Linked DNA regions of Homo sapiens: region 1 is linked to region 2. The links are contacts of gene promoters, found by promoter capture Hi-C in blood cells and fetal thymus (Javierre and others, 2016). All regions are on one chromosome and are shown on one strand. The core of a region is centred on a gene start or on the middle of the fragment in contact, and the rest is flanking DNA. Distances in the headings are between cores, read along the strand shown.

The links. The method cuts DNA at HindIII sites, captures the fragments that hold promoters and counts their contacts. A CHiCAGO score of 5 or more calls a contact.
Region 1: a contact is called between a fragment that was not itself captured here and the fragment with the promoter of SLC2A3 in region 2, in 1 of 17 cell types (M1 macrophages). The highest score is 8.1, in M1 macrophages.

Annotation. Positions count from the first base shown.
Region 1 is chr12:7,624,301-7,630,157 of GRCh38, forward strand. No RefSeq gene overlaps it. Among named protein-coding and RNA genes, the nearest start is that of APOBEC1, 39 kb to the right of the region's middle. The HindIII fragment of the contact is 7,553 bases long and covers 1-5,857 here.
Region 2 is chr12:7,932,569-7,938,373 of GRCh38, forward strand. It overlaps SLC2A3 (solute carrier family 2 member 3), which reads right to left and starts at 3,619. Exons shown (of 10, transcript NM_006931.3): 1 at 3,452-3,619; 2 at 1,242-1,334; 3 at 419-579. The coding sequence starts at 3,466. RefSeq lists an enhancer at 1,727-2,680, a silencer at 3,748-3,797 and a cis regulatory region at 5,646-5,805. The HindIII fragment of the contact is 4,746 bases long and covers 1-4,729 here.

The sequences.
Region 1 (5,857 bases), core at 1,322-3,821, 310 kb before region 2:
GGTGTAGAAAAGAACAATGTAATTGTATGGTTTTTCGTATGCACTCAAACTTCAAAAACAACTTCAAAGTGTACTAAAAATTCTACTGAAGAAACTAGAAAAATAGGTTTAAGTAACCTAGAATGTGAGAAATATTTCAGTGTCTGAATGGATCCCACCTCCCCTTCAATTTTACTTTCAAGGCATTTCCCTTTCCGAAGTTGAGCAGCAGCTAAAATTCTTTCATGCCCTTGGTAGAAAATGTAAGGCTTCAGGCTCTGTGGAATCCTCACAGAGATAATTGATGCAACATTGTCATTTCTCTGGGTTAATGAGAGTTTATTATTTTCAGAAGGCTCTGGGGCAAGGATGAAGCATAGTGAATTGTAAAGTAACTGTGACTCACAGGGAGAGGGAGAACCCTGCTCCCTGTGAGCATGGCTTGTTCCTTCTGCTTCAACCCATCTGAAGAGGATTGTCGCAGATTGGATTTTTCAGAAGCAGATGCTAAAACAAAGTGGCATTTATTCCTAAAAAATAAATGTTTTTAGGAATTAACACCTTGGAAAGAAAGCAGAGTCGGGGAATGATGAGACAACAAAATGTGATACGAGAAGAATTTGAACTGTGATCCAGGCACAACAGAGACCAAGCTGAGTATCTGGACCGAACTGAGGGTCAGGCTGCTATTTCTCATGGCCCAATAACAAGATGATAATGTACTGGGGAGGAAGAGAGTTTTTATCTCTGTAACCAATTATAAGGAAAAGGCCCAGAAATTTTCGCCAGACCAACTCAAAATTACAAAGTTTTCCAGAGTTCATAGACCTTCTAAGCTATATGTCTACATGTAAATGTGCATTCATCTAAAGACATAAGTGATTAACTTCTTTTAATCTATAACTAAGGTCTGAGTCCTGATGACCTTCCTCTGGAGCCTCAGTAAATTTGCTTAATCTAAATGAGTCTAGATGCTGGGGTGATTACCCTTATCTTGTCTCCTGCTAAATCACAAAGGTTTGGGGAGTTCCTTCAGACTTCCAATAGACATGTTTAATCATGCTTTAAGGTTCGGGAAAGGCCTAGGCAAAACTCTTGCTGGGCTTTTGTTACATTCCAACCTGTGTATAAGAGCACTGGCTTTTAATAGTTAACCACTCTGAAACAGTTGTTATGGAGGCCTGCATTAGTGAGACCTGGCCTGCCACAAAGCCATCTTGGTAGGGAGGGCTGCAGGTGCTGACTGAGTATTTCAATAATAAATTTTTCTTTTTTTTTTCTTCTTTTGAGACGGAGTCTCCCTCTGTCACCCAGGCTGGAGTGCAATGGCATGATCTCGGCTCACTGCAACCTCCGCCTCCCAGGTTCAAGCGATTCTCCTGCCTCAGCCTCCTAAGTGGCTGGGAGTACAGGCGCACACCACCAGACCTGGCTAATCTTTTGGTATTTTAGTAGAGACAGTGTTTTGCCATGTTGGCCAGGCTGGTCTCGAACTCCTGACCTCAGGTGATCCATCCACCTCAGCCTCCCAGAGTGCTGGGATTACAGGCATGCCTAGCCATAAATTGTTCTGATGATGTATTTCTGGTTTATGGAAAGGAAAAAAAAATTACAGGAGCCACAGAGATCACAGTAAGTATGATGGCGGGGGGAAAGAGCTACTCTTCGCACCATCAGAAGTATAATTCAAGGCAATAACTGTCTCATTTTCTGCCCTCAGAGCTGTGTTTGCTACTTAAAATATCTGTGAACCAATGAAAATTTCAAATGAGCAGCAGGATGTAAAGCAAATGAGAAATTTAAGCTGTGCTCCCAGAAGGCAATTATTATTAAATATATGTACCACAGCATTATCATCATCATACACATGAAATCAATTATCACCCTAAGCAACCACAATTTCAGTTACCTTATTTTCCTTAGGAAGTCTACCATCACTTACCAGATTTTTACCTAAATGAATTATTATTCATGTCAAAGAACAATAGTTTATTATACCAACATTTGTAGCTATCATAGCTTTACTTAGTTTATATTTTTATGTCTGACTGATTTACTCTACACCACTTAAAATATTGCCAACAACCAACAACATAAAAACAAAATGCCAGGTGAAGAATACAAACAAAATAGCCTTTCTATCTCCACTTAGGATATTATCAATCTTTTCTTTCCCCCTTGCACGAATATTTTTAGCATTGGATCAGGAATTTAGGTTAGCCAGAACAACAACCCTCAAAGTCTTAAGCAAGTATATCATACTTAATTCCTGAAAAATAAGGACTGTAAAACTTTATCCCACATTAATTGAATGAAAATTAAACACTTTTATTAAGCTAAAACCTCATTAGACTAGTAGGCTCCAGCCCCATGGTACCACTCTGCATTTAAACAATAAGAAATTTTTAGTTATTCCTCCTCCTTGCCAGTATGTGGTATTGTAAAGTCTTTTTATTTTAGCTATTCTAATCATTGTGTATTGGTATTTGGTTGTGGTTTTAATTTGCATTTCTCTAATGACTAGTGATGTTAATTTCAGGTGCCTATTTTCTATCTGAGTATCTTCCCTGGGGAAGTATCTGTTCAAATCTTTTTGCCTATTGTTTACTCTTTAAAATTGAGTTATGAGAGTTCTTTATGTATTCTAGATACAAACTTATTAACTATATGATGTGCAATTATTTTCTTCCAGACTATGGCTAGCCTTCCAATCTTTTAATGGTCTTTTGAAGAAGTAAAGTTTTTAATTTTCATAATATCTACCTTATTAGTTTGTCCTTTGGTGTTGGTCTTATGTCCAAGAACTCTTTGCTTACCCAAGGTGACAAAGATTTTTCTTTTAAATTTTCTTCTTCCTAGTGTTGGTGATGAGAAATTGGAAGTCAATATAATTGTATTTCCTTTGAGTATTATGTGTTTTTCCACTCTGAAGTTTAGATGAAGATTTATGTTTTAGCTAAATCCTGAAAATTTCTCATTTATTGTTGTTATAATTATTATTGATTGTACTCTACTCCATTTAATATTTCTATAACTTGGATGCATATTGAAATTTCTGTATATGTATCCTCCGTATCTCTTTTATATTCTTTGTCATTATTCCCCTTTTACTGTATTTTGGGAGAATTACTTATTTAGGTCTCTCGGGTCAAAATTTTTCTGGCATTATCCATTCTGTTCTTCACCTACTATCTTAAGGATTTTCTTTCTATTTTCATAGGGCAAACTTTTATTTTTATAATCTATGGCTTTTAAAATTAATAAAATATCGTTTAGTCTCTCTTTGAATATATTACTTATACTTCTTTTCTATATCTTCTCTGTTTTTTAAAACATGTTTCCTTGAGTGTAAAGTATTTCATTTGTTGTACTTACTGTTTTCATGGTCTTGCAAACCAAAAATGAAGATTTCTTCCTTCTCAGGGGAATCAAGGAAGAAGCCTCTCACTCAATTATGAGCCCCCAAAGCTGAAATTCTATTTAAGCCATTCCCTGAATTTTCTACATGAGAAAACAAATTATTTTCATGTGCCATATCACTACCAAAAATAAATATTAAATACAGTTCCATTATGTACATGGTGTGTTAGTGCTCTTCAACATTTAATAATCTACTACTACTGTACATAATCATATGAATGCATATATGTAATTGTACGTGGAAGAATATACCCCATGCATGTCAAGTGCAAGTGCCTGGGCCAGGCAATTTCCAAAGCACCTCTTCAGGTAGTCAGTTTCCATCCTGGGCCCAAGTTCAATTTCCAGGTTTTTTTTGTTATGGTTTGGTTTTTGGGTTTTTTATGTTGCAGCTGTTTGTTTTGAGACAGGGTCTCACCATCCTGGCTGGAGTGTAGTGGCGCGATTTTGTGTTGTTGTTGTTTTTAGATGGAGTCTAGCTCTGTCGCCCGGGCTGGAGTGCAGTGGCGCGATCTCTGCTCACTGCAACCTCCGCCCCCCAGGTTCAAGCGATTCTCCTGCCTCAGCCTCCCGAGTAGCTGGGACTACAGGCGTGAGCCACCGCACCCAGCCCCCAAGTTCCAGCTTTGATTCTGCCTCTTACTAGCTGTGTGATCTTCAACAAGTCACTCAGTCTCTGCAAACCTCGGTTTCCTCATCTGTCAGTCCCGCTTCCTCTTTGCTGCGCGCGCTCTCGTTGCCTGGCAACGGGAGGCGACGCCCGGATTGAGAGAGAGTAGGTGGGTGCATTGGGTGAGCGCCCACGACAGAGGCCGTTTTGACCGTTGGGCCTTGTCAGTTCCTTAGGACTCGCCTGGGTCTCCAGTCAGTGGCCGGAGGCGACTCCCGGATTGAGCCTAAGTGCGTGCGTTGGGTGCGCGCCCACCACAGAGGTGGTTTTGACGGTTGGGCCGTGTGAGTTGCTAGGACTCACCTGGGTCTCCAGTCAGTGCCGGGCTGCCGCCCCTGCCGCCGCCGCCGCCGCCCCTGCCGCCGCCGCCGCCGCCGCCGCCCCTGCCGCCGCCGCCCCTGCCGCCGCCGCCGCCGCCGCTCCTCTAGCGCTCCTCTGTGGAGAGCGCCGCGGGCACCTGCAAGACGGGGGGCGCCCCTTCCACAAACCCGAGTAGGAAAACCAACCTAAGGGCTCCAGGTGGAGCGTTGCCAGATACAATACAGTAACGCATGCGCAGTCAACTTTGAATTTCAGATAAACGAGTTACTTTTGAGTACAAATATAGTATCATACAAAGTTATTCGTTGGTTATCTGAAATTCAGGGTTACCTGGGAGTGCTGTGTTTATTTGCTGAGTCTGGCACCCCGGCCCGGGCCGCCTCCCTGTCCACTCTGGCTGGGTCTCCCAGGCATGGGCAAGGGACCTCCTTCTACCTCCTGTGGCAACTTCTTCAGGCTGGAGGCAGCTGTCTCTGTGGAAAGGGGCTTTCGTATGTTGAGCCAAGATGCCTATTGGTGTATGTGAAAAATAACACTACTAGGCCGGGCACGGTGGCTCACGCCTGTAATCCCAGAACTTTGGGAGGCCGAGGCGGGCAGATCACAAGGTCAAGAGATCGAGACCATCTTGGCCAATATGATGAAACTCCGTCTCTACTAAAAATACAAAAATTAGCTGGGCGTAGTGGCGCGCTCCTATAGTCCCAGCTACTTGGGAGACTGAGGCAGAAGAATCGCTTGAACCCGGGGGGCGGAGGTGGCAATGAACCGAGATCGTGCCACTGCACTCCAGCCTGGCGACAGAGCGAGATTCCTCTCAAAAAAAAAAAAAAAAAGAAGAAGAAGAAGAAGAAAAAGAACCCTACTTAAAACAGGAAAGTTGGGTTATTCTCGTCGTTCATGGACAGGAAACAAGTGCTCAGGGAGATGACAAGCCTTGCACACTTCCCACTGATATGCTCAGAATTCCCACACAGAACCTTGACTTGGCCCAACCCTTAGGCCGGAAGTTTTCCCGTTAGAGATAATGGTCCCCTTCTCATATTCATCTTTCCGGAGCATCAGGAGGAGGCTGTTCCCGTTTTTATGTTATTTCACTTCAAGTGACGTTGAGATGTCTATGCAGTATTTTTGTCTTTGGAGTATATCATACTGAAGAAATACAGTGAAGATACTGTGTTCCAAAGTCAGATGTAATAATGCTTTCCTCTATGTGGTTGAGACAGCAATGCCAACTCAATAGGGAATTAGGCTTATTTGTGCCATTTAGTTTTCAGTTTTAATGACTGTATTTACATATACATGCATGCACCTTTCTCTGCTGCTTTGTATTCCTTTTCCCAGTACAAAAGATGGCATACTGTGTGCAATTTCTGCACCTTGCTTTCTTCACTTCACTCTGTGTCCTTGAGTTCACACCCTACTTTACAGAGCTTCCGCATTCTCTTGTATATCTGCACAATAATC
Region 2 (5,805 bases), core at 2,369-4,868:
ACTTTTTTTTTGTCATTATCCACATTTGCCATAGACAAAAATAATTCCTACCAATCCTGGGTAAAATAATAAAAACATTTATAATACAAGTAAACAACTTCGGACCTTGTAAATTAAGTATGTTTCTAGAAACCCCATAGTTGAGTTTACTAGGGAATAATTCTGAACTATCCCTAGCTGGACTGCAAAGGCCAATCACTCACAGTTCATCTCTTGCACAGCTGGGTGGGAGCTCTCCAGGGTAGTAGAGCTCCAAGCAAGGGCAGTCATATTCGGGGCCAGTTGGACTAGGTTTCCCTTGATTAGAATTCAAGGTGTTCTTATTCAAAGGCATCATCACCTCCCTGCCCTAACTCTCCACACTTGTCCTCAATGTGGCTGGTAGAGCCCACTTCCTTGCCCAGTTTCTAGTCAATACCTGCCAAAGCGGTTGACGAAGAGTCCGACGGAAAAGGAGCCGATCATACCCCCGACGGAAAATATGGCCACAGACAAGGACCAGAGAGACGTGAGCAGCACCTCAGAGGGTGGGGCATTTCCCTTGTCCGTCAAAGTTTTATTGATAAATTCCTTTATGATCTGCAAAATAAAAGGGTTGGTGGAAGAACAGACTGTTACAGTTGGATGAGAACAAAAGACAAACATTAGGGATCATTTCCTTCCTAGAGAATCAAGGGAATAAATAGACAGGAATGGAAGGGGCAGATAACGTATTGGAATTTATGTTAACTCTCGCTGGAATAGTAATTCTATTTGTCCTGAAAATCCCAGTAGGTGGCAGCACCGATGTTCACAGTCTACCCCAGCCCTCTGCTAAGGGAACCCAGCTTCTTTGTAACTAACCCCTAAGGGATAATACAGGATGTGCATCACTATGAGGTGAAAGAGTGGGAGGAAGAACAGCACCGCCCAGCGTTCCGGGAGTAAGTGAGCTTTGTGCTTCGATTAGATGACCCCACTAATTTTCCCCACCAATATTGTCTCCATCTTCAGTCTTGGACAGGATAGATACAAAGTTTGTCTTAAAATCCCCTAGTTTGGGGAGGGACCCTCACTAACTGTGTTGCTCAGGATGGTGTTTAACTCCTGGACTCAAGTGATCTTTAAGCCTCAGCCTCAGGAGTAGCTGGGACTCCAGGCAGATGCCACCATGCCTGGCCTTAAATTCTGAATTCCTGAAACCCTACTTAAAGGAATAACTTCCCTATTCTAAATTCTAATTATTGTGGCCTGGCACTCACCTTCTCAGGAGCATTGATGACCCCAGTGTTGTAGCCAAATTGGAAAGAGCCGATTGTAGCAACTGTGATGGCAAATATCAGAGCTGGGGTGACCTGGAGGGAGGGAAGACAGAGGAGAGAATAGTCCTTAAAACTTGTGATTGATGACTGTTTCTTATTAATTATGGAGCTGTATTAGGAGAATTTGAGTTATGAGTGGTATGAAAAGAACATCCAATGAGATTTAGGTAATTAATGGGGAAGACAAAGGAATAGATTATACTAAAGAACTTATCTGGAGATAAGAATGTGAAGTTAACTTGGTAAAAATGAAAGAAAATTGGGGAAGGAAGAAGTTAAGAGAAACTGGGTTGGTCAGTTTGGAAATATTTAAAAACTTGCATCAGGCAAATGTAGGCATAGAATTCCACTCACGAACTGGGAGGGCAGAGAAAAAGACAGTCTCGGGTAGGATTACTAAGAATTGACCATTCTGGAAACAAATACAGTGCAGTCTGATCTGTACCCCAGACTCCACGGAAGCCCACTGGTGGTGGTGGAGGGGGTGGTAGTTTGTGTCTTCACTGCTGGGTGGCTCTTTGAGTCTCTTATCTCTCAGGACCATGTAACCTACTGGATCTACTCACTGCATCCTGGCCCCATTTCAGTCTTCGTTTATTAAATACAGTTCTGCTATCCCTAACTCCCGCGCAGGGGAAGAAAGTACTTACTCTGAACCCAACATATAAGGGCGAACCCAACATATAAGAGACATTTCTTAGTGGGGAGAACCGGTCATCTTCACCTTGCCTGGAATAATTCAGCCGGGCGAGACATTTTCCATTTCTACCTTGGGGCAGCTCAATTTTTATACCTGAGGCCAACTTCTACGCCATTCCCCCCCACCCCACCACCCAAAATCCCTTCAACCTTTCATATCTTAAACTCCTTTCCTTTCAGGTCGGGCAGATTAGGCAGCAGGCTGGGAGCTTCAGCAGGAGAAGTGACCTTGCCTGCAGCCTCCCAGATGTCTCAGTCCCAGCTAAGCATCGGTACCCCGGAGGGCCCTGCCAGTGCAATGCTCTGTTAAATCTTTTTCCGTTTAGTAAAAATCTCTTCTGTCTCCTCTCATCATTCACTATCTTTGAGAGCCTTTTCTTCTTTAGTCTCATAATTTTCCATCCCTTTCTTATTTTCCTACATTTTCTTTCTTTCTGCTTTGTAGAGATGGGATCTCACTATATTGCCCAAGGCTAGTCTCAAACTCCAGGCCTCATGTGATCCTCCTGCCTTGGTTTCCCAAATGCTGGGGTTATAGGTGTGACCCACCACACCTGGCCCCTTATTTTTAGTTAAATTTATCTTGGTAAAAAATGCCTTTCTTGCTGCGCGCAGTGGCTCATGCCTGTAATCTCAGCACCTTGGGAGGCCGAGGCCGGCGGATCGCCTGAGGTCGGGAGTCGAGACCAGCCTGACCAACATAGAGAAACCCCGTCTCTACTAAAAATACAAAATTAGCCGGGCCCGGTGGTTCATGCCTGTAATCTCAGCTACTCAGGAGGCTGAGGCAGGAGAATCGCTTGAACCCGGGAGGCGGAGGCTGTGGTGAGCTGCGGTCGCTCCATTGCACTCCAGCCTGGGCAACAAGAGTAAAACTCAATCAGAAAAAAAAGAAAAGCCTTTCTCCCTGCAAATAATGCATATACAACACTCAATATTTTAGTATGTCCTGCACTCACGATTTTAACCCTAATAGGAAGGACAACTGGAATTCTTTCTCCTTAGCATCCACGAACCCCATATGTTATAGGACAAACAGATGGCCAGACCCTGGCCTGTGCCTCCAAACACAGACCTTTTCAAGGTCTAATGCTTCCAGAGAAGTCTTCACACTGGCTCTGAGACCCACACTTGTAATCCATACAACCAAGCAGCCCGATCCTCTAAACACTCAACCATCTCGTCCTCAGTGGCATATGGTTACCTAAAATAAACCTGAGAAGCAAACACAACTTCTCCGGGTGACTTTCCTATGATAAGGTGAACAGAACTGTATGACATTCAAAGAGAACTGATGAAGCGGCAGCAGTGCAGGCTAGAGACGAAATGAAAAGGCCTTAAGATAGCTTGGTGACTTAGGAGAAAATAGAACAAGGAGATTACCATTAATATTTGCCTTTCTGAGTGTATCCCAAACAAGCAAAAATAACCAGTAATTATATCATTCTTACCTTCTGTGTCCCCATCGCTGTAATCTAATTCAAGTCTTCAAGAAAGATCTAGGGGTGATTCCAGAAACAGCTTTTTCAGCCAACAAAACCTTCAAAATGTCCTTCTCAGCAGCAAGTTTTCTCCACGTCCTCAGGAAGGATCCAAAGTCTTACCATTACAGCATCTCTGGGTCTCGCTGGGATCATGACTATTTATAATCTCCGCAAAGGGTGGAGCCTGAAAGGGCGACAAGCCCCCAGCCCCACCCCACCCCACCCCACCCCCCTGAAGCAATCTTGTGATCTCTCGGAATTCTGTGTTATCAGAACTACCCCCGCCCCCGCCCCACAGACAATAACGCCCTCCCTCCCCCCTCTCTTAAAACCACATCCTTCCACTCTCTCCACCCTGGGTTTTTTTTTTTTTTTTTTTTTCAAAAGCTCATCCTTACTCCTTCCCTCTTCTAATAGCAGCTAGAGCCTCTTAGTTTCACAGACAAAATACTACCAGAAAAGCCTGGAGGGAGGGCAAATACACTATTTTATGCTCTCGCATCTGCTTGGGATTAAAACAATCTACAGAGAGATTAGAATAAATCTATCCATACAAAACGAAGTCAAGTGGGTGCTACTATCAGAGATTTAAGGTTGTTAGAAAGAGTGTTAGTAAGAATTCTTGATCCTATGAATTTATAGGCTGGGTCTACAATCTTTTTTTTTTCTTTTTTTTTTGAGACGGAGTACACAATCTTAAAGGGGAGGGAAAGACAGCCTGAGAGAAGAAAATCAGGGAAATAATTTTGCCAGTGTTCCTTTCTTCGCATAATCTCACCTGGAGGGAAGAAAATCTGAATTTCTAGGAGCCAGACCAACTATCAGGGCAGTAGGAATAAGAGGTTCAACTGTTTATGGAATACAATCCATATCCTTTTTTTTTTTTTTTTTTTTTTTTTGATATGGAGTCTCTCTCTGTCGCCCAGGCTGGAGTGCAGTGGTGCGATCTCGGCTCACTGCAACCTCCGCCTCCCGGGTTCAAGCAATTCTCCTGCCTCAGCCTCCCGAGTAGCTGGGACTATAGGCGCCCGCCACCACGCCCCGCTAATTTTTGTATTTTTAGTAAAGACGGGGTTTCACCATATTGGCCAGGCTGGTCTCAAACTCCTGACCTTGTGATCTGCCCGCCTTGGCCTCCCAAAGTGCTGGGATTACAAGTGTGAGCCACCGCGCCGAGCCCTATATTTAATAAGGCATTTGCCATATCACCCATTCTGAATTCTGCATCACTTTCTGCTAGTCTCAAGCTTATAGCATCTAGAAATGCAATAAATACCGAATTCAATTAAGCAGGTATTTGCCGAATACACGCTATGTATCAGGTACTCTCCAAGAAGCTGGTGATTCTTCAGTGAATAATAGAAAAAAAGGCCGGGCGCGGTGGCTCACGCCTGTAATCCCAGCACTTTGGGAGGCCGAGGTGGGCGGATCACGAGGTCAGGAGATCAAGACCATCCTGGCTAACACGGTGAAACCATTCTCTACTAAAAATACAAAAAAAAAAAAAAAAAAAAAAAAAATTAGCCGGGCATGGTGGCGGGCGCCTGCAGTCCCAGCTACTCGGGAGGCTGAGACAGGAGAATGGCGTGAACGCGGCAGGCGGAGCTTGCAGTGAGCCAAGACAGCGCCACTGCACTCCAGCCTGGGCGACAGAGCAAGAATCCGTCTCAAAAAAAAAAAAAAAAAAGAATAATAGGACAAAAGAGTTCTGACCCACAAGTCATTTATAGTGTTTCCCTTCTTCCCTTTTTATAAAGTATAAAAAGGGACTAGGGCAAGTAATTCTCACATAACTGGAAAAGATTATTAATATCCTATTAGTTATGGACTGTGAGTTTCTTGAAAGAAAAGTGTTACATAAGTATCTGATTACTAAGCTATACAAGAAAACTGAACAAGCTAAGCAGGAGAAGAAAATAGGAATGAGAACTGAGGGAGGGATAATCGGGGAGAGAGAAGAGTGGTTCCAGGTTGAGAGTAAACAAAGCAAAACAACTTGGTTTGTGTTTAAACAGCTGGGTAAGTGAGAGATAGTATCTAGGCTTTTTTGGAGGAGGAATATCAACTATCAAATTCCTAATGCCCATTCATTTGTAGCTTGCAACCCTTTCAGTACTGGAGGTGGCAGGGTGGGTGAAGGACGCTTGGTAAAGAGATAAACTTTTTCCCAGTGGTGAATTGGAGAAAGTGTATCTTCCTTTAGGGTTTTGGTTGAGGGCCTAGAATTCAAATTGATACTGCTGGACCCGAGAAAACTAGATTACTGTTGCTTCCTTTGCTTTAACGAGGATATTGTTAAAATCTGATTTGATGACAACTCC